Regions from separate parts of the Homo sapiens genome. Here region 1 is linked to region 2. Evidence: promoter capture Hi-C in human tissues and cell types (Jung and others, 2019). All regions are on one chromosome and are shown on one strand. Each heading gives the region's core, a stretch centred on a gene start or on the middle of the fragment in contact. The rest is flanking DNA. Distances are from core to core; before and after follow the strand shown. Region 1 overlaps PRKAR1B (protein kinase cAMP-dependent type I regulatory subunit beta). Region 2 holds the start of CYP2W1 (cytochrome P450 family 2 subfamily W member 1).

Region 1 (2,780 bases), core at 255-2,754, 370 kb after region 2:
GCGTCTGTCATCTGGGCCTGGCTCCCCTCCCCTCTGTGGGCGCCACGCCTCCCGCCCTCCATGCTGACCTGAACCTCACAGTCCGGTTCCCTGGGTGGTGGACGAGTCCTTGGGTGTCTCCCACCCGCTTGGTGGCAGCCCTGCTTGCCCCTGCGGGGACCTCCCAGCACTGCACCCTCTTGGCTCCGCAGGCTTCCCTGTCCTGGGGCCGGGAGAGGTCTCTGCAGGCTGGGGAGGGGTTTCTGGAAACATTCTCAGGTGAGCTTTCCCGTGCAAGTCCCAACCTGCGCTTGTCTTGGCTCGGGAGGCCCGGAGCGGCGGGAGGAGGAAGGAAGTGGCATTTCTAGGAGCTGATGGTGTTTTCCAGGTGGGCCTGGTCGTGGCTTTTTCACCCTCGGTGTACCGTGTTGGTCGGTGGGCCCTCGTAGTGGGAGCTGGACCTGTCTCTGCAGGTATTGGAGCAGATTCACAGTGCGGAACGATGGGCTGAGTTACTCACGTTCAACCCCGCGTGTGTGATTTCAGGGGCTGAGCTTGGCGCGCCATCTCCTTGCCTTTTGAAGGCGAGTTTGGCTGTGAACGGAGCTGCTGGTTCTGATCCCGTACGCTTCCTCAGACGTTGTGGGCTTGGAGTCTGTGCCACACTCAGAAAAGCACATTTTTGTGTTTTAAAGTCTACATTTTGCCTCTTTTGGTTGCTTTAAAAATGTTAAGAGCCTTAAGTCTGCCCTTAAGCGTACGTGTCGTGTTTTCTCCAATGATGAACGGCCTCATTTTTAAAATTACACAGATTTACAATGTAATTATAGAAAATTAGAAAATACACGTCAGTACAAGTAATCAAAAAAAAAAAAACAAAAGAAAAAGAAAAAAACACATGAAAATGACCCCAACCCCACCCCCTCTCCACCCCACAGTTGCTATTAGCCTTACGGTGCATAGCCTCTAGGTTATTTACTTTATGGTTGTGTTTTTAAATTGTACAGTTTCATCGACACCCTATTTTCACTGGCAACACTGTGAACACCTTTATTCCTTGTTACATGTATCTACACCACCATTTTTAATGACCACACGGTGTTAGGTTGTTGAGAAGGACTGTGATTTATTTAATAAAGCCTGTATTGCTGACAGTGCTTCGGTGAATATTATTACACACACACATCTTTTCATTGTCGTTTATTTAATAAAGCCTCTGTTGCTGACAGTGCTTCGGTGAATATTATTACACACACACATCTTTTCAGTGTCGTTTATTTAATAAAGCCTCTGTTGCTGGCAGTGCTTCGGTGAATATTATTACAATATTTTTACATCTTTTCATAGTCATCCCGTTGTTTCTTCAAGTTCCTAAATGTGGAACTGAGGGTCCCAAGGGTGGCCACTCCAGCAGCTTTTGATATTTGTTGCAATGCCCTTAAAGAGGCAGTGCCATCCTTCCATTCATCCTTCCAGGCATCCGTTTTTTCATTCACTTTTCCCTTCCTTCCTCTCCTCTAATAGCCACCCATCCATCATCTGTCGGTCCATCCACCTGTCCATCCATCCATCTATCCATCCACCCACCCACTTGTTCATCCACCCAGCTGTCCATCCATCCATCTATCATCCATCCTTACATCCATCCATCCATCCATCCACTAATCTACTCAAATCTACTCACACACCTGTTCATCCACCCACCTGTCCATCCATCCATCTATCCATCCACCCACCCACTTGTACATCCACCCACCTGTCCATCCATCCATCCATTAATCTACTCAAATCTACTCACACACCTGTTCATCCACCCACCTGTCCGTCCATCCATCTATCCATCCATCCATCCGTTGATCTACTCACCCACCTGTTCATCCACCCACCTGTCCATCTATCCATCCATCCATCCGTTGATCTACTCACCCACCTGTACATCCACCCACCTGTCCATCCATCCATCATCCATCCTTACATCCATCCATCCATCCATTAATCTACTCAAATCTACTCACACACCTGTTCATCCACCCACCTGTCCGTCCATCCATCCATCCATCCATCCATCCGTTATTCTACTCACCCACCTATTCATCCACCCACCTGTCCGTCCATCCATCTGTCCATCCATCCATCCATCCATCCGTTGATCTACTCACCCACCTGTTCATCCACCCACCTGTCCATCCATCCATCCATCCGTTGATCTACTCACCCACCTGTTCATCCACCCACCTGTCCATCCATCCATCGATTCATCTACTCACCCATTTGTCCATCCATCCATCCGCTCACCCACCTGTTCAATCCACCCGCCTGTCCATCCATCCATCCATCCATCCATCCATTCATTCGTCTACTCACCCACCTGTACATCCATGTGTCCATTCACTCATCCGTTCATCCACCCACCCATCCAACCATCCATATTGTGCTGAGGAGCTTCTGCGTCAGACCCGGGCTGGGCACTAGAGCCTGCAAGGAACATGTGGTCTCCATCTGAGAGCTCAGTCAGCTGTGGGAGGCGGAAGCCATCCGTGGAGTGAGAAGCACAGGAACTGAGGTGTTGCAGGAGGGGGAGGCATCAGGATCGGGAGTGGTGTGGGCGGGGGCTTTCAAAAGGTTTGTGATCTCTGAGCCACAGGCCAGGTAGGACTGGAACCCGGGACAGGCCGTTTCCTGGAAACTGTCCTGACCCAGCACCACTGGCCAGCCCTGACCCAAATAGCAGGGGCTCCTTACTGGACGCCTGCCCAGAGAGAGCTGGGGGTGGCCGTCCCAGACGCTCAGGCCCTCAATCC
Region 2 (2,786 bases), core at 118-2,617:
TGGCGATGGGAGGCCGGTCGGCCAGCTCCTGCCCGGGGCCCGCCAGCGCCTCTTTGACCGCCTCGAACCCCGTCAGCACCACCGTCTTCTGGCGCCCCAGGTGCACGGTGAACACCGGCCCGTAGCGTTCTGAGAGCTGGCAGGGATGGCGGGGGTCACCCGGGCAGCCCTCACCCACAAGACCCCCCTTAGGTCCCCTCAGGCCGGGCCTGTGCTGGGTAGGGGTGGGGACAGAGGGAAAATGGGGGCAGGTGGAGGGGGCACGCCTAGATGCCATAAAGCCAGTGGTGCAGGGTGGAGGGGGCAGCGCCCAGCCTGGAGCCCACAGAGCCCTCTCGCCATCTGGTGCTTGGCATGGCTGTTGTGGGATTTTCTTTTTAGCCAAAATTCCTGGGGGGCTCAAGCCCTGAGTCCAGGCGGCAAGGTCGGGGGCTGGCTGTCTGCTGGGGTGGCACATTCTGAAAGGCCAGAGTCTGCACAGAGTGAGGGCCTGACAGGCTCGGCCCCCAGAGACCCTGATCCGTCTTCGGCTACAGCCCGGCCAGCAGCACCCCAGCCCGCAGTTGGGGGCAGCCGGAGGCAGGGCCCGGGCCTGACTGGTCAGCCCTGTCCCACTGACCCTGCCTGCCTGAGCGAGGACAGAGCGACAGTGCTAGTCAGGCTGCCCCGTGCCGTGTCCCCGTACCCTCTGTCCTCAGCATCCCTGCCCAGGAGGCACAGGTCCTCTTCCCATTTCACAGATGAGGAAACAGAGGCTCAAAAGTGGGAAGTGTTTGCTGTTGAACACCTGAGGGCCGAGGGGGGCTGAGCAGGCAGCCGACAGGCCCAGGCCCTCCTCCCCTCTGCTGTCCCTAAGCCTGGCCTCCTGCGGGCTCTCAGCAGACGCCACCGCCTCCAGGGAGCCCTCCAGACTCCTGCTCCCGCGCCGGGCCCTGGGTGGCACCTCCAGGGCTTCTTCGTACTCAGTGTGTCTGCTTCCCTGTGGGACGGGGTGGCTTTCCCCTCCCAAAAGCAGGGTGGGCCCTCCGGCCTCCTGCGTGCCCCGCTGGGCCCGGCACCATGTGGGAACAGGCAGTGGAAACCGGGCTGGGCTTCCCCAGGAGGGGGGCCAGGACACGGCAGCTGTCCAAGCGGCAAGAGCTGCCCGGGCTCCCTGACTTACCTCCATCAGGGACCGGTCCTGTTGCGACAGACGCAGCAAGTGCAGGTTCCCGACGAGCGGCAGCGGGCGAGGCCCCGGGGGCCACCGGGCAGCTGGGGAGGGGTCTTGGGCGCAGGCGCAGAGCAGCCCCCAGAGCCCCAGGAGGCCCAGGAACAGCAAGAGCAGCAGGGCCATGAGGACGTGGCTGGTGAGGCTCCACTCCCCTCCTGGGCCCCGTCCCCCCCGCACCCTTATAGGCCTCCGCGGGAGGGCGTGCCCGCACCCCACCCACCCCACCACCCCGAGAATGTGGAACGAGCAGTTTGCAGGGCAGCCCCCAGCGGATGGCTTAAAGCTGCAGGCCTGCGTGGAATGTGGGGCTGAGGCCCTGGTGGGGCCGGGGAGGGGAGGGCAGGACGGGGGCCCTCTGGGGTCAGGCATCCATGTCTCCTGGCCAGAGAGAAGGATGTGGCACGTGGACTGTTCTGCCCCTGGTTCTGCTGAACCTGCCAGTCCAGGCCCCTTGGCCTTGGCCACCCCTCAGAACTGGGATTCACAGGGCTTTGGGGCCGAGGCCCTGGCTTGGAGGGGAGCCCCCTGCCTTTCACAGGCTCTGAGTGGGACCCTGTGGAGCTCAGGGTTTGCAGGCCTCTCCCAAACCCCATCCGTGTGCACCCAGCTCTTCTCTGATCAGCTCCCCACGGGGCAAGGGACAGGAGTGAGACCTCAGGGAGGCCCATGAGGGGACTCAAATCCCACAGTCCTCACAGGCCACCACCTGCATCTCCCTGAGGGTGTTCTCGCCCCAGGTAGCAGCCTGCTCCTTTTCGAGGGCTGCCGCCCGGGCAGGGGATGCAACCCTCTGAGCTAGGACAGGAACATGGAAGGGCTGCCGGGTGGCAGGTGGCGGGGTTTACGAGCCCTGTCCATCTGTCTCCTAAACCGCTGTGAGGGGTGGGAGGGCTGCTGGCAGCAGAAGCGGCCGGGCCTGCTTTGCACAGCCTGCCCTGACATGAGGCAGCTGGAGCTGGTGCCAGCAGGCGGGACCCTCCCCACAGCCTGTCTCTGGGGCGTTGCCCATGCCCTGTACGAACCGCAGAGCCGAGGCAGCCTGAGGCCCTCACCCCTCCCGGGTTGGTCCCCCTTGATTAGCTGGGAGGGAAAGCCCCAGGCACAGTTGCACGCCTCCTGTGGTGGGGAGCTCACTACCTCTATCCTGCTGTACAGCCTCAGGGCCAGGGCTGGGCGGCTGCGGCGGGGAGGGAGTGCCTCATACCAGGGCCACTACTGGGTAGGCTGGGGGTCCTACCTGCCTAGCAAAGCTTACTTAATTAATTCAGGGAATACTTTTGATTTTTGTGTGTTTTGTTTTTGAGACAGGGTCTTGCTCTGTTGCCCAGGCTGGATTACCGTGCTGTGAGTACAGGCTCACTGCAGCCTCCACCTCCGGGGCTCAAGCCATCCTCCCACCTCAGCCTCCCAAATAGCTGGGACTACAGGCATGCACCACCCAGCCTAGCTAACTTTATTTATTTATTTATGTAGAAATGGAGGTCCTGCTACGTTGCTCAGGCTGGTCTCACACTCCTGGGTTCAAGCAATCCTCCTGCCTCGACCTCCCAAAGTGTTGGGATTGCAGGTGTAA

The links. The method cuts DNA at HindIII sites, captures the fragments that hold promoters and counts their contacts. A contact is called where the count stands out against the background at its distance.
Region 1: a fragment that was not itself captured here is called in contact with the fragment with the promoter of CYP2W1 in region 2 in 1 of the 25 tissues and cell types used here (lymphoblastoid cells).

The regions. Positions count from the first base shown.
Region 1 is chr7:611,317-614,096 of GRCh38, reverse strand. The region is part of intron 4 of PRKAR1B (protein kinase cAMP-dependent type I regulatory subunit beta); the gene reads left to right. LOC105375119 (a long non-coding RNA gene) reads left to right here. Exons shown (of 2, transcript XR_007060176.1): 1 at 1-258; 2 at 526-1,136. Among named protein-coding and RNA genes, the nearest start is that of PRKAR1B-AS1, 9.9 kb to the right of the region's middle. RefSeq lists enhancers at 1-151, 152-652. The HindIII fragment of the contact is 9,856 bases long and covers 1-2,780 here.
Region 2 is chr7:981,762-984,547 of GRCh38, reverse strand. CYP2W1 (cytochrome P450 family 2 subfamily W member 1) reads right to left here and starts at 1,367. Exons shown (of 9, transcript NM_017781.3): 1 at 1,163-1,367; 2 at 1-136. The coding sequence starts at 1,336. It also overlaps a transcript of CHLSN not described here. The HindIII fragment of the contact is 22,766 bases long and covers 1-2,786 here.